4 separate regions of the Homo sapiens genome follow, and all the other regions are linked to region 4. The links are contacts of gene promoters, found by promoter capture Hi-C in blood cells and fetal thymus (Javierre and others, 2016). All regions are on one chromosome and are shown on one strand. The core of a region is centred on a gene start or on the middle of the fragment in contact, and the rest is flanking DNA. Distances in the headings are between cores, read along the strand shown. Region 1 holds the start of CCDC9 (coiled-coil domain containing 9). Region 2 holds the start of DMWD (DM1 locus, WD repeat containing). Region 3 holds the start of QPCTL (glutaminyl-peptide cyclotransferase like). Region 4 holds the start of DACT3-AS1 (DACT3 antisense RNA 1).

Region 1 (5,063 bases), core at 2,013-4,512, 600 kb before region 4:
GCTTCCTCCACTACGGCAGAATCTGCCTGGGGACAGGAATGTCTGTCTGCTTTCAGTGATGTATGTCACTGACGTGTATCCCAAGTCTAGAACGCTGCCTGGCCCACAAGGGAAATTCAATATGCCTTTTTTAAAATGAATGAATACATGAAGAATGAATAAATGAAACCCATGCCACCTCCCAGATCCCATCTCAGGGAGAGCCACATCACCTACTCAGCAGCCTTGTCCTAAATCCTCCCTCTTCCTCCCCCTGCCCTGAACTGCCCATCAGTAACTGAGTCCCTCTCAACAGCCCTGCCCTGAGCCAGGTACCTCCTCTCCCACTAGGGTTCCAGCCCCAGCTTCCTCCTTGGTCTCTGGGCTCCAGTATCACCTCCTCGCACCCACCACCGCACAGCACCCAGAGGCGTCTTCCTAAAGAGCTGTTCTGACCGGTCCCACCCCTGCTCAAGGCTCTCCCTGGCTCCCCAGTGCCCTCAGGACAAAGTCCAAACTCATCCTGGTGGCATTCAGGGCCTAGCACAGCCTGGCCCCTGCTGACCTGCCCAGGTCAATTCTCTCCTAACCAACCCTCCAACTTGAAGCTCCAAGCTCTCTCTTGCTTCCAACATTTGCACAAACTGTTCTTTCTGCCTGAAACATGTTCCCCTCGCCTTTTCAACTGGCTATTGTCTACTCACCACTCAAGCCTCAGAGTCCACTCCTCCAGGAAGCCCTCCCTGATATCCCCAAGGCTGGGTCAAGAGCCTCCTCTGGACTCCCACAGACCCCTGAATTTCCTGATTCCAGACTTGTCTGCTCTGGGGCATCCCTGAGGACAGGGCTGTCTCCCTGACTAGACGGTGGACCCTGGAGGGGGCAGGCCTGGGTCTGTCTCAGTCACAGCTATATCCCCAGCACCACTCAGCACTGGGGCTGGTAAAGATCTTGGGGAATATTTGTGAACAAATGAATGAATGAATGAATAATGGAATGAAAGAAGGGATGTCAGGCTAAGGCCTTTGGCCTTTATCCTGACAGTGATGGGGAGCCATGAAAAGGTTTTAAGGAAGGGAGAGGTGAGAAAAACTCACTGCGGGGAAGAGAGGGGATGGGGTCTCCCAGGGCGGGGCTAGGGCACCTGGTAGCGCCGGATGAGGGCCTCATTCTTCCGCCGAAGAGCCTCGATCCTCTTGTCCAACTCAGCATCCTTCTCCTCCTTTGATTTCAAATCGAGTGTGGCTGCCTGAGACCGGGAGGCAGTTGAGGGATGGAAGGAAAAACCTCCATCCATACCAGGGACTTTCCCCCAGGGTCTGAGAGTCTGCCCCTATGGATCCCATCCTCCCAAGCCCCCTTCCCCAAAACTCAGATTCTAGAGACCCCATTTTTCAGCCTCACCATTTCGCTGGCTGCGTGGAGCCAAGGTCCCAGCAAACCTCCCCTGCAGAATCTAGACGCAGCACTGAGGGTTCCTGGGGACAGAGGGAAAAAAAGGACAAAGGCCAATGGCCCCCCAACCTACTTCACCCTCTAACATACTGCGGGATCCTCACAGCCATACACAAAAAACCCTGTACCCCAAGAGAATTGTAGCCCTCACTCTCCCTCCTTTCAACTGCCACCTCCATCTTCTCCATAGAAATTCAGACTCAGCCCTTTCATGATCTTTGTGGACTCACCCAGTTCCCATGTAAACGATCTAGTCAAACCCACCTTGGGGATGTTCTGGCCCCCACCCACTGCTTAAGTATCCAACACTGCTCTCCTCCAAAGGCTGATTCTAGGCCAGCCGCCACACCCTGTGGTATGAGTGTTAGCCCGGGTTCCCTATCTCAAGAGAGTTCCAACTACAACCCCTCCAACCAGCCTGCAAAAGAAAGTTCCAGACCCACCTCCCTGTGCTCATCCTGGTGCCTCTCATATCCAGGCGAATATTCTAGCTCCACCAGGTAAGGTTCAGAAACATTCCCAATCCCACGCTCAAAGAAAGTCCGAACCCCACTCTTATTGGCTGCCCAAGCTCTCAGAGAACATTCCAAGCCCGCGCCTTCCTCAGGGACGTCCTAGTCCCGTCTCCAGCGCCCTACGGAAGGTCGACAGCCTCCCGCCTCCCCCGAAAGGATTCTGTACACAGGCCCAGAACTCACTGGCGAGGCTTCCTGGAACTGGCGTTTTGCCCCACTGAATACTCCACCCGCCCCAACAAGGACAAAACTACCCAGGCCCGCCCCAGATTTTCTGTGCAAAGCTCCAGCCTCAATCCGGCTGGGAATGCCAGGGCCACGTCCCCGACATCCTGGAAACCGCTCTGGCCCCGCCCACGGCTCGGGAAAAAACTTTCTGGCCCCGCCTTTCCCGCCAGACTTCTGGCCCCGCCCCCACCCATGGGCCATTAATGTGGCCCCGCTCCCGACTTTCCCAGCCACGCTCTTTCCCCGCCTCCTGGCTCGCAGGCAACAGCCTACACCCGCCCCTACCATCTCTTATTATTATTCCAGCCCCGCCCCCGGCCTGCCCAGTCAACCCTCTGGCCCCGCCTCCGATTGGCCTGGCCAACCTCCTGGACACGCCCCCTGACTCCCTCCCACACCTCGTTGCGTCAGCATCTGGCCCCGCCCATGGCTTCCCCAGGGTTCTGGCTCAACTCCCCGCTTCCCCGCCTCCCGGCCAACGCTCTGGCCGCGCCCGTGGCTCAGACGAAACTTTCTGGCTCCACCCCCAGCATTCCCCGCCAGCACCCTGGCCCCGCCCCCTGGCTCCCCCACTACATTGTGGCCCCGCCCCCGCCATTGCGTCAGCCTCTGGGTCCGCCCCCAACGTCCCGGCCAAGAATCTGGACCCACTTCCAGTAAGGCAAAACTTTCTGGCCCCGCCCACAGAGCTTCCGCCCGGCGTCCGAGCCCCGCCACACAGCTGAACAAGCAACACTATGGCCCCGCCCACAGTCCAGCCACAACTTTTAGGTCCCGCCCACAGCCGCCGGCCCAGGCTCTGGCCACGCCCCGCCCCGACCCTGCCCACCCACCCAACGGCCCGCCCCGCCAGCGCCCCTCCAGCTTCCCATGTGGGCGTCCTGTCCCCGCCCCCCGCAGAGAACTCCGACCCCGCCCGGGCCTGTTCGCACTCCCCGCCACGTGGGGCTTCAGGCCCCGCCTTCTCTGGGCGCGCTCCCGGCCCCCTCCCCCAGGTCACCTGTCCCGGAGACCCCGCGGCGTCCGCGACTCCGGCTCCGTCGGCCTCTGCGACCGCAGCTCCCGGGCCAGGCGCGTCACTTCCTGCCTGCACCACGTGAGGAAGGGAAATAAAGAGGGTCACTTCCGGTCCTGTGGGACCGTTTCCGGGAGCCTTAAAGGGGCCGCGCCTCCGCGATGGATGCGGGAGCGGGGCCGACTGGCCCCCCGGGTGTTCCGCAAGCTCATCCAACTTCCTTCTGCCTGAATTACCAACTTCCAGGAAAAGGAGACACCGTCCTCACTCCCTGGCCTCTACCTCTTTCTTCAAGCTGTTTCCGCCTCCAGCCCCTCATTCCTGGTTTCTATCAGTAGATGCCAAGCACTGGGCACTGACGCCTGGAAGCCTGGCGTGGTTCGAGCCCCCTCGTGCCAATGAAACCTTAGAGTTCGCTTTAGAAGCTTCAGATGTTCTACCGGCCGTGGGCGGTGGCTCACACTTGTAATCCCAGCACCTTGGGAGGCCGAGGCGGGCGGATCACCTGAGGTCAGAAGTTCGAGATCAGTCTGGCCAACATTGTGAAATCCCGTCTCTACAAAAAAAATTAGCCGGTTGTGGTGGCGCGCGCCTGTAATCCCAGCAACTCGGGAGGCTGAAGCAGGAGAATCGCTTGAACCGGGGAGGCAGAGGTTGCAGTGAGCCGAGATCATGCCACCGCACTGCAGCCTAGACGACAGAGCAGACCCCTTCTCGAAAATAAAATAAAATGCTGGGCGCAGTGGCTCACGCTTGTAATCCCAGCACTTTGGGAGGCCGAGGAGGGCGGATCACTTGAGGCCAGGAATTCGAGACCATCCTTGCCAACATGGTGAAACCCCGTCTCTACTAAAAATACAAAAAAAATCAGCCCGGCGTGGTGGCGGGCGCCTGTAGTCCGAGCTACTCCGGAGACTGAGCCAGGAGAATGGCGTGAACCCCGGGGGCGGAGCTTGCAGTGAGCCGAGATCGCTCCACTGCACTCTAGCCTGGGCGACACAGGGAGACTCCGTCTCAAAAAATATACATATACAAAAATTAGCCAGGCATGGTGGCGGGCGCCTGTAATCCCAGCTACTTGGGAGGCTGAGGCAGGAGCATCGCTTGAACCCGGGAGGCAGAGGTTGCAGTAAGCCGAGATTGCACCACTGCACTGCAGCCTGGGCGACAGAACGAGAGACTCCGTCTCAAAATAAAATAGGCCGGGCGCCGTGGCTCACGCCTGTAATCCCAGCACTTTGGGAGTCCGAGGCGGGTGGATCACCCGAGGTCAGGAGTTTGAGACCAGCCTGACCAACGTGGTGAAACCCTGTCTCTACTAAAAAATACAAAAATTAGCCAGGCATGGTGGCGGGCACCTGTAACACCTGTAATCCCAGCTACAGGCTGAAGCAGGAGAATCGCTTAAACCCGGGAGGCAGAGGTTGCAGTGAGCTGAGATCGTGCCATTGCACTCCAGCCTGGGCGACAGAGCAAGACTACGTCTCAAAAAAATAAATAACTGGCCAGGCGCAGTGGCTCATGCCTGTAATCCCAGCACTTTGGGAGGCCGAGGCAGGTGGATCACAAGGTCAGGAGTTCGAGACCAGCCTGGCTAACATGGTGAAACCCCGTCTTTACTAAAAATACAAAATTTAGCCAAGCATGGTGGCAGATGCCTGTAATCCCAGCTACTTGGGAGGCTGAGATAGAGAATTGCTTGAACCCGGGAGGCAGAGGTTGCAGTGAGGCAAGATCGTGCCACTGCACTCCAGCCTGGGCGACAAAGTGAGACTCCGTATCGAAAATAAATAAGTAAATGAAATCATAAAATATAAAATAAGGCCGGGCGCGGTGGCTCACGCCTGTAATCCCAGCACTTTGGGAGGCCG
Region 2 (4,819 bases), core at 1,609-4,108, 870 kb after region 4:
GCCATTCATTCATTTGTTCACCACCTCTGTTGACATGGACTCCAAGCCAGGGCTGTTGGGCCCTGCAGAGAGCACAGACATTGCCTGGCAGAGTCTCTCCCACCTGTTTGGTTTTTGTTGTTGTTGTTTGAGACAGGGTCTCATTCTGTCACCCAGGTTAGAGTACAGTGGCACAATCTCAGCTCCCTGCAGCCTTGACCTCCTGGGCTCAAGCAGTCCTCCCATCTCAGCCTCCGGAGTAGCTGAGACCGCAGGTGCACATCACCACATACACTAATTTTTGTATTTTTTGTAGAGACAGGGTCCTGAGTAACTAGGACTGCAGGCACAGCCCACCATGCCCAGCTAAATTTTTTCAATTTTTCAGAGTCTCACTATGAGATGGGGTTTATGTTGCCCAAGCTGGTCTTGAACTCCTGGCATCAAGCGATCTGCCTGTCTTGGCCTCCCAAAGTGTTAGGATACAGCTGTGAGCCACCGCGACCAGCCCCACCTGTTTTATTTATTCATTTACCTAGCCATCAAACCATTATTGAAATACCTCCTGTCAGCCCACCCCTGTGCTGGGGACACAGACAGCTGCAGTCCTGCCTTCCTGGACCTCACAACACTATAGGGAGAGAGACTCATTTCCAGACAGTGACAGCCCAAATGGGGAAGCCCAGAGGACTGACAGAGCTCCCGAGCCAACTCTTAAAGGGTCAAGAAAAGAATGGGGAAAGGCATTCCAAGAATAGGGAACAGAATGTGCAAAGACCCAAGGACAAGAGAGAGTGTGATATGTTGGGGTAGTTTTTCAAGCCTCATTTTAGGTGGTGGATAGTGTGAGGAGTTAGTGGTGAGATATGAGATTGAAAAGAGGTTGGCAGGGGCCAGATCACTTGGGGCTTAACTTTCCCCTGAGAGCACTAGGGAGCTACAGATGGGTTTTGAGCAGGGGAGGGCCCTGATCATATTCATGCTTTAGAAAGACCTCTCTAGGCCTAGTGCAGTGGGTCACACATGTAATCCCAGCACTTAGGGAGGCCAAGGTTGGCGGATCACCTGAGGTCAGGAGTTTGAGACCAGCATGCCCAACATGGTGAAACCCCGTCTCTACTAAAACTACAAAAAAGTAGCTGGGTGTGGTGGCAGGTGCCTGTAATCCCAGCCACTCAGGAGGCTAAGGCAGGAGAATCACTTGAACCCAGGAGGCAGAGGTTGCAGTGAGCCAAAATCGTCCCATTGCACTCCAGCCCACGTGACAAGAGCGAGACTCTGTCTCAAAAAAAAAAAAAAAAAAAAAAAAAGCCGGGTGCAGTGGCTCATGCCTGTACTCCCAGCACTTTGGGAGGCCGAGGTGGGTGGATCACCTGAGGTCAGGAGTTCGAGACCAGACTGGCCAACATGGTGAAACCCCGTCTCTGAGCCGAGATGGAGCCATTGCACTCCAGCCTGGGTGACAGGGTGAGACTGTCTCAAAAAAAACAAAAACAAAAACAAAATAAAACCTCTCTACATGCCAAGTGAAAGGTGGAAGTGGGGGTGAGACAGAAATCTGGGAGACCAAGAGACACGGTTGATGTGGGGGTGGGGGAAGGGCTTGGGTAGAGGAGAAGCTTGGATCAGGGAGAACAAGGAACTGAGAAAGAGGAATTCCACGTGGTCGAATGCAAAAGACTTGGAGGCTGTAAGCGGGGGCAGAGTGAAGATAAATGGTACACATCTAGGAAGACACCCAGGTCTGTGGCCTGGTTGACTGAGTGGACGGCAGAGCTAGCCCTAAGGTGGGGATGCAAGAGAGGTGGAGGATTTGGTGTAAGACGTCAATTTCATTGTAGGATTCTTTTTTCTTTCTTTTTTTTTTTTTTTTAGAGAGACTGAGTCTGACTCTGTCCCCCAGGCTTTAGTGCAGTGATGTGAATTCATAGCAGTCTTGATCTCCTGGGCTCAAACGATCCTCCCACCTCAGCCTCCCAAAGTGCTGGGATTCTCGGATTCCAGGCATGAGCCACCATGCCCGAACCATTGTAGGATTTTTTTTTTTAAGTGTGAGATGCCCTTGGGACACTCTAGGGAGAAATCGTAGAGGCCATTGACTACATGAGACTAGAAAGATCTATGATGGGGCTGGGTGGCTTCAGCAGACATGGGGAGCACTGGCTATGAGTAGGAGCTGTTGGGATCAGGGGGAGACTTTGGGTTACGAGTGGATCACTGGGACACTGGGGCACCGTGGGGATCAATACAATTTGGGAATCAGAGGTAGGTTTTGGAGGACAAGTGAGGTTGTTGAAAATAAGAAAATCATGGAAATATACATTGGAGGTTGGTGGAAAATATGAAGGATGTTTGGAGTTAGCATTAATCAATAGTGGGTCAGAGGAAGTCCTCTGAGTTGTGTGGGGACACAGGGATTTGGTGGGTCACCAAGGGTGGGGAAGAATGGTAGCAGATGCTGTGGTCATTCAGGGATTTGAATATGTCAGTGGGAAACACTGGAGGTCAGGGGAGTGTATATTGGGCGTCTAAGGAGAGACCAGGGTCACTTGGGGTTGGCTGTGACTTCATGGGAAGGCTGGACTATGGATGAGGGCTTCTTTGTCGTGGGGGAAAAAAAAAAAAAAATCCCTCCGTTGCTAGGCAAACGTTCCCAGGGCGCGGTTGCTAAGGACTTGAGCTTTCTAACTGGCCACGCCTCTTTCCATTGCGGGCTCCGCCCCCGCAGCCAACCACAAGTCGGTCACAGGCTCAAAGGCCGCGCCCACCTTCTCGCCCCGCCCACAGTCCCAGCACCGTTACCCGAGCGACCGCGGGGATTCGTCCCGCCTCCGGATCTGGGTGCCAATCGAAGAGGCGTTGCCCGGGCGACGACCCCACCTTTTCCGGCGCGGGCCAGCGGCTTCCGGGAGGGGGCCCGGCTGCGGGCGGCAGTCCGGCAGTGGCGGGGCCCGGGGGGCGCCCAAGATGGCGGCGGGCGGCGCGGAGGGCGGCTCGGGCCCCGGCGCCGCCATGGGGGACTGCGCGGAGATTAAGTCGCAATTCCGCACGCGCGAGGGTTTCTACAAGCTACTCCCGGGCGACGGCGCCGCTCGCAGGTCGGGTCCGGCTTCCGCCCAGACTCCGGTGCCGCCTCAGCCACCGCAGCCCCCGCCCGGCCCTGCCTCCGCCTCCGGTCCCGGCGCTGCAGGCCCCGCGTCGTCCCCGCCGCCCGCAGGCCCCGGACCCGGGCCCGCCCTGCCCGCCGTGCGCCTCAGCCTCGTGCGCCTCGGGGAGCCGGACAGCGCCGGGGCCGGGGAGCCGCCCGCCACGCCCGCGGGGCTGGGCTCGGGGGGAGACCGCGTCTGCTTCAACTTGGGCCGTGAGCTCTATTTCTACCCAGGCTGCTGTCGTCGTGGGAGCCAACGGGTGAGCGGCCTGCATCGTGGGGCCCTGGGTGCTGAAAGGATGGAGGTTCCAGAGAACTGATAGGAGGGTCCCCGAATTGATATGGGGCCCTGAGATAGGCATTCTAAATGTGATGGACGTTGTAGGGCGACAGCATTGGAGGGAGTACAGGATTCTGAAATGTGATGAGAGGCCCGCGGGGTGCTGGGCAGGCATCTTGGAGGTGATGGGGGAAATCCCCTTTACCCCCGTTATGCGTAGGAGTTCTGGGATGGTGACTATTGGACATGATGGGGTATCTGAGATGAGGTGGGATCCCCCGGGTTCTGGGGTGGCAGGCATTCTGCAGGTAATGGGGAATCATGAGGTGATGCAAGCCCAGAGGTGATGGAGAACCCAGTATTGCAGCCTGGAGGTGTGGGAGAGGGGTCTTGAGATTGAGCCCAGGAATGAGGAGAAGTCTAGAAGTGATGGGGGCCTTGAAGGTGATAGGGGATCCAGAAGCTGAATGGGATTCTAGAGAAAATTGGGGTCTGGAAGTCATGAGGGTCCTGGAGGAGATGAGCGTCCGGAAGCTGATGGGAGCTCTCAAGGGAATGAGAGGCCCTGGCAGGGGAATCTGCAGGTGTGATTCAGGACATCTCTAAAGCGATGTGGTGAGAACCCTGGCCGTTTATGGTGATCCCAGAAATGATGGGGATCCTTCGGAGCCCCTAGGTAATAAATGGGCCTAAAATGTGGGAGACCGTGAGGTTTGACGGGTCCCAGAACTGTGGCGGTTTAGGGACTACAAAGTGAAGAGAATGCTAGGATGTTAGGCTTTAGAGTCCTGGAAATTTGGGTGACCTCAAGGTTTGGGGGTCTTGGAATAGTGTGGTACTAGGTCCCAAGGGAGTTGCTGAGGTTATAGGATGGAGTGGTGAGGCTAAAAGGAATCGGAGCTTAGGAACTGTGTGGACCCAGAACCCTGATTATGTGGACAAGGGTGTCTCTGAATTAGAGGTGACCCAACTTTGGGGAGGCACTGTGGTCAAGGGGGATCCTTACCATCTTTTTTGCTACTCTTGTCTGTGATTTGGGTCCCCTTCCCGTCTGTGGTTGCCCCGTCCTTCGCAATCCACCTACTCACCTCCCCACTTCCCTCTGGGTTCTAACCCTGCTTCCTCTTAGTGGTTTCCCCCAACCTCAACATCCTCTTCCTTCTCCTCAGTGGCATACACCATTAACTCCTTTTCTCCCACCCCTCAAGTCCATTGACCTCAACAAGCCAATTGACAAGCGGATCTACAAGGGCACCCAGCCCACCTGCCACGATTTCAACCAGTTCACTGCTGCCACCGAGACCATCTCGCTGCTGGTGGGCTTCTCAGCGGGTCAAGTGCAGTACCTGGATCTCATCAAAAAGGACACCAGCAAGCTGTTCAATGAGGAGGTGATTGCAGCCCCCAGAGCC
Region 3 (5,408 bases), core at 2,909-5,408, 970 kb after region 4:
GGGGTGACATTGGAGTGGACACCTGAGTGAAGAGTGGGAGCCAGCCAGGAAGATATCTATGAAAAGCATATTCTTTTTTTTTTTTTTAAGAGACAAGGTCTCTGTCACCCAGGCTAGAATACAGTGGCACGATCATGGCTCACTGCAGTCTCAAACTCCTAGACTCAAGCCATCCTCCCCTCTCAGCCTCCCAAGTAGCATGCCACTACTCCCAGATAATTTTTTTTTTTTTTTGAGATGGAGTCTCGCTCTGTTGCCCAGGCTGGAGTGCAGTGGTGCAACTTTGGCTCACTGCAACCTCCGCCTCCCGGGTTCAAGCAATTCTCTGCTTCAGCCTCCCGAGTAGCTGGGGTTACAGGTGTGCACCACCAAGCCTGGCTAATTTTTGTGTTTTTGGTAGAGATGGGGTTTCATCATGTTGGCCAGGCTGGTCTTGAACTCCTGACCTTGTGATCCACCCACCTCAACCTCCCAAAGTGCTGGGATTCCAAGTGTGAGCCACGGAGCCTGGCCAGAAAAGCACATTCTATCCAAAGCAAACAGCAAGTGCAGATGCCCTGAGGTGGGAGCAAGCTCTGCGGGTTTGAGGAACCCAGAGGAGGTGGGGGTGGCTACAGCAGAGTGAGCAAGAGGTGAGGGGTGGGAGATGAGGCTGGAGAGGTAACAGGGCACAGCTCGTGGGCCAATATAAGGACTCTGGATTATGGCTGGAATGAGGCGGGAGCCCTGGGAGGGTTTGGGGGAGAGGAAAGAGAATCTGACATCTAGAAGGTAAAAAGATCCCTGTGATGACCAGGCGCGGTGGCTCACGCCTGTAATCCCAGCACTTTGAGAGGCCGAGGTGGGCAGATCACCTGAGGTTGGGAGGAGAATTGCTTGAACCCAGTAGGCAGAGGTTGCGGGGAGCCAAGATCTCGCCATGTGCACTCCATCCTGGGGAACAAGAGCGAAACTCCGTCTCAAAAAAAAAAAAAAGATCCCTGTGGCTCTGTGCGTGGAGTAGAGTGGGAAGACGAGAGGGATGACAAATGTCCAGGCAAGGGAGGGTGGGGGCTTGGGAAAAGGTGGAGGTAGCCCACTACCCTCCCCGACTCCTGCTCCTCACCTGTTTTTTGGCCCTGCTCAGCTCCAGGTCAAGTGCTTGGGCCAGCTCCAGCAGCAGGGCACAGGGCACAGCCGAATCCGTGGCCCCTACAAAGGGGGTCGATCCGGGTGGGAAGAGCTTCGAGTCATAATGGCAGGCAAGGGTGAGGTGACGGGCAGCCCTTGGGTCCAGTGTGGCCACCACATTGCCAAAGTCCACTGGCCCCAGGGGTGTTGAGGCTGTGAAGGGATCCAGCTCCACGTGCCAACCTGCTGTCAGGGACCGCAGCGTGGCCTCCAGGAACTAGCGGCAAGAGAGAGGTGGGAGGGTGGACGGGGACTGGGGAGGAGGTGGGGAGAAGGGCCACGTGACCTGAGCCATGCAGAGCAGATGGGTTGACACTAAAGCCCCACTCTGATTGAATGGATTTCTTTCTTTCTTTCTTTTTTTTTTTGAGATGGAGTCTTGCTCTGTCACCCAGGCTGGAGTGCAGTGGCTTGATCTTGGCTCACTGCAACCTCTGCCTCCTGGCTTCAAGTGATTCTCCTGACTCAGCCTCCTGAGTAGCTGGGGTTACAGGCGCCCCCTACAACGCCTGGCTATTTTTTGTATTTTTAGTAGAGATGGGGTTTCACAATGTTGGCCAGCCTGGTATTCGAACTCCTGACCTCAAGTGATCTGCCTGCTTCAGCATCCCAAAGTGTTGGGATTACAGATGTGAGCCACTGTGCCCAGCCCCCTACTCTGATTAAAATCATTCCCTTGACAGTGCTGGTGAGTACCTACTGGGTGCCAGATGTTGGGGAGACCCCACCTCTTGAAGCCAGCAAGACTCATCACAGCTTACCCTTAAATAGCTCTCACTGTGTGCTAAGCCCTCTTCTAGGAACCATTTAGGGGAGGGACTGCCAATACATGACCCCATTTTACAGATGAGGAAATGGGCTCAGAGAGGTTAAGAAACTAGTCCAGGCCGGGCGCGGTGGCTCACGCCTGTAATCCCAGCACTTTGGGAGGCTGAGGTGGGCGGATCATAAGGTCAGGAGTTTGAGACCAGCCTGGCCAATATGGTGAAACCCCGTCTCACTAAAAATACAAAAAATTAGCCAGGCATGGTGGTGCACACCTGTAATCCCAGCTACTCAGGAGGCTGAAGCATGAGATTTGCTTGAACCTGGGAGGTGGAGGTTGCAGTGAGCCGAGATCGCGCCACTGCACTCCAACCCAGGCGACAGTGTGAGACTCCATCTCAAAATAAAATAAAATAAAATAAAATAAAAAAGAAACCAGTCCAAGGTCACAATCTAAGTGGATGAGGTAGCATTGGGACTCAGGCAGTATTTAAGTGACTTTTTTTTTTTGAGATGGAGTCTCGCTCTGTCACCCATGCTGGGGTGCAGTGGCGCAATCTCAGCTCACTGCAGTCTCCGCCTCCTGGGTTCAAGTGATTCTCGTGCCTCAGCCTCCCAAGTAGCTGGGACTACGGGTACCCACCACCACGCCTGGCTAATTTTGTATTTTTAGTAGAGATGAGGTTTCACCATGTTGGCCAGGCTGGTCTCAAACTCCTGATCTCGAGGGATCTGCCTGTCTCGGCCTCCCAAAGTGCTGGGATTAGAGGTGTGAACCACTGCGCCTGGCCTTTAAATGACTCTTCATGCTTTCTGGAAGACAACAGATACATTACAGCACCAGCTCGGAGCCAACCTGTTTGGGTTCAACTCTAGGTCTATGATTTTCTAAACATTGGGTCTCACTAGGTTGACTAGGCTAGTCTCAAACTTCTCAGGTGATTCTTCCACCTTGGCTTCCCAAAGTGCTGGGATTACAGGCATGAGCCACTGCACCCGGCTAAGGTCTACTACTTATTATCTGTAGGATTTGTGCAATGTGTATAACCTCTCTGAGCCTCAGTTTCCCCATCTGCATAATGAAGATCATATTGGTACCCACCTTATAGGGCTGTCTGTTGCCTATGCCTAGCACACAGTAAGCTTTTGGTGGGGGCATTAAGGGGGGCAGTACAGCCTGGTGGTTTGTTACCAGCATGGAGTCTAGAGTCCGATTAACTCCAGTCAGAGCCCCAGTTCCTCCTCTTAGCTTCTTTGGGATCTTGAACAGGATTCTTATTTCCCATTCCCTGGAGGGCTAGGGGGTCAGGGACTGGAGGTGGGTCCCTTTACCTTTCTGACTTGGAGATTTCCCGGGCTGCCCGGGGTTCGCACAACCAGCAGGGGGCGCAGATAAGTGCTCCAGAGACGCTGTGGATCCAGTTGTCCCACCACCCTCCGCAGCCGGGCTTCGGGGAGGCTTCCGATCAATGGGACCTTGGGAAGGAGGTGGGATAGGGAAGGGAAGAATGAGAGCAACCCCCCCATTTCAACCCTACCCCGGGCGCCGTCACCCGCGAGGAGCCCCGGGTTCTCTTCCTAATCTGCCGCCTCCAGCATCGGAGACTTCTAGGATAAATCCAAGGCTCAGGAAAAGTCCTTCCAAGACCATCCGGTCCAGCCTACCTCAAACTTGATGGGGAAATCGAGGCCCAGTGAGAGAGAGGGGAGATGGAGGAAGGGACTCTTCCAAATAGTTGACTAAAGGCGTAGAACCCTGAACCCCCCCGTCTTACTATTTCAGACCTTTCCTCTTAAAAGGAAGCTACTGTTGCAGAACCAGCCCGAAGCCTTATTCCTTTGGTAAGGGTCATGCGCTCAGATGACGAAGACGGTGGCATCTGCGGTTAGGGCCGTACGCTAAAGCCACGTCAACCCTGGGTAACAGCGGGGAGGGAATGAGGGTCCCCGCGGTGCCCGGGTCCCCGCCCAGCCTCACCCGCAGCTCCCGGCCCAGCGGCAGCTCCTCAGTCCTGCGGTGCCAGCCGCTCCAAATGGTGTAGAACGCCGAGCCCACGGCCAGCGCCAGCAACAGAGGCAAGAGCCGAACCCGCGGTAGCAGGCGGCGCTTCGGCGGCAAGAGTGGCTCCATGAGGCCACGTTCCCCCAGCCGCAGGCGGGGTCGCCCGCGGCCCCCGGAACGCATGGCCGCTTTGCCCTGAAACCTGTACCAGACCACGGATTGAGTTTAGGCCCAGCCAAGTTCCTCCCCATGGAATCGGTGGGCCAATAAGCAACAGCTGCGGCTGCACCAGCCCACCCCACAGCGAGCAGCGAAACCAATAAGAACTACGGTCCTGAGGACACGCCTCCCAGCCTCCCTTAGGTATTGGGGTTGGTTCCCCTGAGAATGGCACGACCCAAATGGGAGCGCAAGAGAAGTAGGCTCCGCCTTAGCGGAGGAGGGAAAGCCAATGAACAGCGTTTGATCATGGAAAATATTCGATCTCCCGGGCGCAGGTCCATGCCCCTTCCGGATGTAGGCAGGGGATTGGTGGCGCAGGGTCGGAAAGATCAGTAGATACGTCAGTAACGCGTCCCAGAGGGAAGAGGGGCGGTGCCTGTCTCCGAAGCGAGGAGCGGATTGGCTTCACGGAGGCCGCGCCCCCGAAGTCACGGCCGGCGGGCATTTGGAAATAGCTTGTCATTTCCCTCCTTCAACCTGTACCATTCTTCAAGAAACGGTTTGAATCAGACTGCCTTTCCTTTTGTCTTCATTGTCATAAACATCTGCCCCCGTGTGGTTCTGACTGGCCGCGAACCCCTACCCGAAGCTTTTATTCCATCATTGTGCACCGTTGGTGGGGAATGCTGTGGCAACAGGCCACGCCTCCACTTACTGGTTGGCTTTGCGCAGGCGCCAACGGAAGTGGGTCGCAGGAAGAGGAAGTCCCGCCTCTCTCTCCTCAGGCAGCAGCAACGCGGAGGAAACGGGAGTGAACGGAGAGCGTAGTGACCATCATGTGAGGCCGGGCTAGGCTTAGGCGGCGGGAATGAGGTTGAGGGTGGATATTTGACCGATTGAGTGTGGGAAGGGTTGAGCAGAGCGGGGGGGGCAGGGGCAGATGTTTTAGGGATGCAGCGTCCTGCTTTTCTCCTGATGAGTTTGAGAACGGGCGTGGGGCCTTTGACGCATCGTGACTTCGGGAGAGGGGACAGCTTTATCAGATAACGCCCTGGGCTGGGCGCGGGGGCTCATTCCTGTGATCCCAGCACTTTAGTAGGCCAAGGCGGAGCATCGCTGGAACACAGGAGTTCGAGACTAGCCTAGGCAACATAGCGAGACCCCCGTCTCTACAAAAAAAAAAAAAAATTTAATTATGAAAAACATGTTTTAAACGATAACGGGAGTGGTCCTAGATAATTAGTCCTATTGAAATGAATGTTAAGGGGCAGCGATTTTACGAATACTGGGGGAGGCCGAGCGCGGTGGC
Region 4 (4,908 bases), core at 1,879-4,378:
CACTCGATTTTTATGGGAACCTCTTCCCATCCCTACCATCTATAAATCAAGGTCTATGAGCTTCTGCAACTTCATTAACAGCCCCTGCATGGGACTCAGTCTCTGTAATCACAATTTTTTTTTTTTTTTTTAAAGATTGGGTCTTGCTCTGTCACCCAGGCTGGAGTGCAATGGTGCAATCATGGCTCACTGTAGCCTCAGCCTCCCAGGCTCAAGTGATCCTCCTGCCTCAGCCTCCTGAGTAGCTCGCACTACAGGTACATGCCACCATATCCAGTTTGTGTGCCATGTTTGGAAGCAACTGTTGCTTGTTGATTCTCCAGACATCTATCTTTCTTTCTCTCTCTCTTTCTTTTTCTTTCTTTCTTTCTCTCTCTCTCTCTCTCAATTTCTTTCTTTCTTTCTTTTTTTGAGACGGAGTCTCCCTCTGTTACCCAGGCTGGAGTGCAGTGCCACAGTCTCGGTGTGTGCCATCATGCCCAGCTAATTTTTGTATTTTTAGTACAGATGGGGTTTCGCCATGTTGGCCAGGCTGATCTGAACTCCTGAACTCAGGTGATCTGCCCGCCTCAGCCTCCCAAAGTACTGGGATTACAGACGTGAGCCACTGCGCCTGGCTGATTCTCCAGAAATCTTTTGGCATCATCATTAATAAAAGCATCAAGAAGTCAAAAAGGAAATCAAGTGATCCTCCCGCCTCAGCCTCCCAAGTAGCTGGGGCTACAGGTGTGCACCACCACACCCGACTAATTTTCTAAGTCTATTTTGAACAAGAGGAAGACTGAATAAAGGTTGTCTCTAATAAATTTCAAGACATTTCCCCCCGGAAACTTACTAGATTAGTTTTTAAACTTATTTGTCAAACCCTTCTGTGGCTCTTAATCCATGGAAGACACTGCTCCAAGTACCTAATACATTTCATTGAATCCTCAGAACAACTGTATGAGGCAGCCAGTATTATGATCCCGTGATCAGATGAAGAAACGGTGGCACAGAGAGGTTAAGTAAGTTTTCCAAGGTCACACAGCTGGAAAGTGACAGATCTGTGACTCACCCCGAGGAAGTCTGGCTCCTGGAGACTTTGCTGTCTATCGCCACTATCAATTTCTCTCCATCTCACCACCAGAAGGTCACTTCGTGCACGGGGAATCATAAAAGAGGGAATTTCTTGTATGATCTTCTGGGCCTTGGCTTTTAGGGAGCCAAGGTCTGTCTGAGAGATGAGTATGAATATTAGAGCTAGGTCTTGGAAGTTGGTAGAGGCAGGCTCGGCGTAGTGATACAGATTGGCCGCCTGAGGGTGCCCCAGCCCTGCTTGCGGAGCCTGGAGAGACAGCAGGAAGCCTTGGAAACGAATGTCAGGCTCAGACTCCTAGGACCAGAGAACGTTGAGAATAGAGCATCATAGAAGGCTGAGAACAAAGCCCCTTAGAACGTAGAACAAAGGCCCCTGGAATGGAAGAATGATGAGCACACATCCTCCTAGCACCTGGGAGACAAAAGCTGCTTAGACTCTCTTCTGGTCAAAGCATAGAATCTTCCACCCAGGGTCTTATAATTCCAGAATTTGGAATGCAATCGATCTTAGACTCTTAGCAGCAAGACCGGCTACATATTTGGCCTAGTGCAAAGTGAAAATAAGGGGCCCCTTGCTCAAAAACTAAAAATTTCAAGACAGAAATTGCAGAACATTCAACCAAGCGCGAAGACCCTTCTAAGTGGATTCCAAGCCGGTGAAGCCGGCCCTAAGTAGAAACAATTTCATCGGAGGACGTCCGTCTGGTTTTACAGCTGAGTGTCTGGGAAGGCTTCTTGGAAGAGGAGGCGAAGTCAGGGCTCGACCCCCTAACCCTTTTCTCCCCCTGCGCAGCCTCAGAAGCTGAAGGTTGGGCGGGGTGGAGGGGTAGGAGCAGCTGCCAAACTGTCACGTGTACCCATTCCCTATTTATAGATCACCCTTCCCCTCGCGCCGGACAGTCCAATGGTAGCCAGCGCTCGCCCGCAAGAGGGTGGAACCTGCTGCAGGACCGGCCAGGCACAGACCAATGGCATTGAAGCAAGGGCGGGCTTGTTTCATTGTGACGCGTGGGGGGGCGTGGCCAGGGCCCCGAGGCAGTTGCACGGAGGGGGCGTGGCGAGCGGAGTGAGTAGGCAGTTGCGAGCATGCGTCGTGTTGGGCGGTGCGGTTGCACGCCCGAGAGTCTTCGTCAGGAAGCTTATTCGCCAATAGGCGGCTGTTGCTCGGTCGCCGGGGGCGTGGCCATGCAGATAAGGCGCGGGTGGGCGGCCCAATGGGCGGGCGCCTATGCAGATGAGACGGTGACAGCCCGGCCAGCGGGCGGGCGGGCAGGCTGCTGGGGCGGGGAGGTGGGACCGGGAGAGGGGTGGCCGCGGGGCCCGGCCGGGCTGGGGCGGGGGGCCGCAGCCATGATCCGGGCCTTCTCGTTCCCGGTGAGCCCTGAGCGGGGCCGGCTGCGGGGCTGGCTGGAGGGTAGCCTGGCCGGGCTCTGCGAGTTACATTGGCTCCGGGAGAGGCAGGAGTACCGCGTGCAGCAGGCGCTGCGGCTGGCCCAGCCCGGAATGGGGGGCGCCGAGGCCGAGGACGAGGAGGACGCCGATGAGGATGAAGATGCGGCGGCGGCGCGCCGGGCCGCAGCGGCCCTGGAGGAGCAGCTGGTAAGGGGCTGCCTGTCCGTCCGTCCCTCCACCCCCGTCTGTGTCTGTCTGTCTCGGTTGGATGCTCAGACACCGGGCGGGGGTTGGGGACCCGGGTAGGCAGGGAGTGAGAAAGGACAGGGGGTGGGGCTGGCGACCCCGGAGTTCCGGCGGCGGGCCGGACCTGGCCTCCCCGCCCCCAAATCGGGGGAGGGGGAACTGCATCGCCCCCACTGGGGCCTCGTGAGAAACACAGGCCCTGTCTCTTACACCCCTTCCCCAAAGAAAATCCTTGTGGGCGCCAAGTATGTGTCAAACCCGAGACCGGGTACTTTGCAGGCGTTGTCTTCTTGCGGCTTGGGAAACGGGGTGATAGTCCCCATTTAACAGAGAAACAAATTGAGGCTCAGAGAGAGCAAGCGACTCACCCAAGGTGACACAGCCAGGCTCCAAACATGCCCTTCTCTGGGCCCCGCCACCAGGGCTCCATCTTCCCTAAGTCCTGGTGTGCTTGGAGATCTCTGGAGGGGGCGGGGTGGGAGGAGGGGAATCTCAGGGCCTCCAGAGGGAGGGACCACTGCTGAGAGGAAGCTCACAGTCCCTGAGGACCCCCCACTGGGATCTTGACCCTTTGGTGACACTTCCCCTGCTTCCTACCTGGCCCCAGCTCTCCTTGACCCAAGGGGAGGCAGGTCGAGGCAGCGCCTGGGGGAGACTTCTGGACTCTGGGTGTTCTCATGGTGGAAGATGGGCAGAGGTCTCCGGAATGACTTGAGGACGCCCCATGCCTCTCCCCTTTCTATGTCATTCCTTGAGTCTCCCGATCTCGTCCTGGGTTCTGTCACTCTCTCCGTCCTGCCACATCCCTGTGACTTTCTGTGTCTGCTTCTCTTTCTTCATCCTGTCTCTCTGTCTCTGTGATCTCTGTGTCCCTCTGCATCTGTCTCCTTGGCCTTCCCTTCCTGCCTGTCTGCACCTCGCTCTCTTCTTCTTGCCCGACGTCCCAGGCTCAGTCTGTCTTCCCCTCCCCCCAGCCCGCACACCCTGGCTCCACGGCAGATCCCCATCCCCAAGCCTGTGTGTGGCCAGAGCTTCCCGTTTCGGGAAACCTGAGCCGAGGTGGCAGTGGAGGGGGCTCTCCCCGCCGCTGACCTCGACCGCCCCCTCCCCAGATGGGGAGTGGGGAGGAAGACTGAAGCCAGGCTCCCGGGGCTGCACGCCCGGCCCCTCCCCCTCTCAGGAGTGGGACCCCCCTGCACATTCTTTTCTGGAAACAGAAACAGCTGTGGGAGGCCCCACCCCCTCCCAAAGTTAGAGACGGATTGTGGGGGCCTTCGCTAGCTCCCCCCACCCCAAGCTGGCTCGGCTTGGAAGGCGCCTTCCATCCTGACAAGGAGAATGCGAGGCATGAGGTTGGGGTAGCTGTGGGTAGCTGTGTCCTCTCCCCCTCTGCCCTCGGTCTCTCCCCTTTTCACCCTTCACCTTCCCCATCTCTGCCCTTCAGTCTCCCTCTCCTCGGTCCCTCTGTCCCCTCCTCCCCCTCAGCCCTCTGTCCTCCCGGCACGAGCTGATAGTGGAGAGGCCTGTCCCCCCACCCCCCAGTCTCTAGGCAAAGCTTGTCCCAGCATCAGGGAGGAGGCGGTGGCAGGCGGGGGGAGGAGGAGGAGCAGAGAAGCGCTAAATATAAACTTCTCTAGTGCTGGGGGTTCCTGGGTCCCTCTGAAGAGTGGATTAGGGCTTCTTCTGATCCCCCAACCCTTGTCTTATGACTTATCCCCCCACCCCCAGCCCCTGCCAGGAATACACTTCCTTCAAGGCAAGAAAGACTGAAGCCAGACTTGATTACTTTCTAATAGGAATGATGGGGATACCAGGTAAAGATCAGGGGTGTGGCAGAGAAGAGAGGCAGGAATCCTGGGTGAGGGCAGGGGCTCCCTGGGTCCTGCTTGCTCTCAAGAAGGAAAAAGGTTCCTTTCATCAAGAATAACTTAAGTTAGACTTGCAGAATGACTTCCTAATAGAGATAAATGGGCACTGGATACCAACGAGGGGCACGTGAGGGGAGAAACAAGGTAAGGGAAGTTTGGGCAAAGGGGTCTCCAGGGGTCCTAACCACACTCTTATTAAGCCTGCAGAGGAAGGATGAGGGGCACCGTGAGGAGGCAGAGAGCCAGACTCAGGCCAAGGACTTTCTAATCTTTTAAAGATTCATCCTTTTGCAACTGGAAGGAATGAGGCCAGACTTGCAAATAG

The links. Contacts are between HindIII fragments. The CHiCAGO score rates a contact against its expected background, and 5 or more counts as called.
Region 1: the fragment with the promoter of CCDC9 here is called in contact with the fragment with the promoter of DACT3-AS1 in region 4 in 3 of 17 cell types (fetal thymus, total B cells and total CD8 T cells); the score reaches 6.0 in fetal thymus.
Region 2: a contact is called between the fragment with the promoter of DMWD here and the fragment with the promoter of DACT3-AS1 in region 4, in 5 of 17 cell types (total CD4 T cells, erythroblasts, fetal thymus and 2 more). The highest score is 7.4, in total CD4 T cells.
Region 3: the fragment with the promoter of QPCTL here is called in contact with the fragment with the promoter of DACT3-AS1 in region 4 in 2 of 17 cell types (total B cells and fetal thymus); the score reaches 6.7 in total B cells.

The regions. Positions count from the first base shown.
Region 1 is chr19:47,254,724-47,259,786 of GRCh38, reverse strand. It overlaps CCDC9 (coiled-coil domain containing 9), which reads right to left and starts at 3,262. Exons shown (of 12, transcript NM_015603.3): 1 at 3,178-3,262; 2 at 1,384-1,457; 3 at 1,124-1,228. The coding sequence starts at 1,386. RefSeq lists silencers at 2,464-2,513, 2,554-2,793, 3,004-3,113 and an enhancer at 3,004-3,913. The HindIII fragment of the contact is 17,839 bases long and covers 1-3,619 here.
Region 2 is chr19:45,790,884-45,795,702 of GRCh38, reverse strand. It overlaps DMWD (DM1 locus, WD repeat containing), which reads left to right and starts at 2,858. Exons shown (of 5, transcript NM_004943.2): 1 at 2,858-3,387; 2 at 4,616-4,798. The coding sequence starts at 2,947. RefSeq lists a silencer at 2,730-3,209 and enhancers at 4,358-4,407, 4,428-4,487. The HindIII fragment of the contact is 5,053 bases long and covers 1,601-4,819 here.
Region 3 is chr19:45,691,416-45,696,823 of GRCh38, reverse strand. It overlaps QPCTL (glutaminyl-peptide cyclotransferase like), which reads right to left and starts at 4,158. Exons shown (of 7, transcript NM_017659.4): 1 at 3,914-4,158; 2 at 3,268-3,411; 3 at 1,106-1,387. The coding sequence starts at 4,120. It overlaps SNRPD2 (small nuclear ribonucleoprotein D2 polypeptide), which reads left to right and starts at 4,871. Exons shown (of 3, transcript NM_001384647.1): 1 at 4,871-4,937. The coding sequence starts at 4,936. RefSeq lists enhancers at 3,451-4,001, 4,527-4,656, 4,667-4,796, 4,615-5,335. The HindIII fragment of the contact is 1,670 bases long and covers 3,081-4,750 here.
Region 4 is chr19:46,658,584-46,663,491 of GRCh38, reverse strand. DACT3-AS1 (DACT3 antisense RNA 1) reads right to left here and starts at 3,128. Exons shown (of 3, transcript NR_040042.1): 1 at 3,084-3,128. It overlaps DACT3 (dishevelled binding antagonist of beta catenin 3), which reads left to right and starts at 2,310. Exons shown (of 4, transcript NM_145056.3): 1 at 2,310-2,676. The coding sequence starts at 2,428. RefSeq lists silencers at 1,933-2,052, 2,263-2,512. The HindIII fragment of the contact is 2,055 bases long and covers 2,218-4,272 here.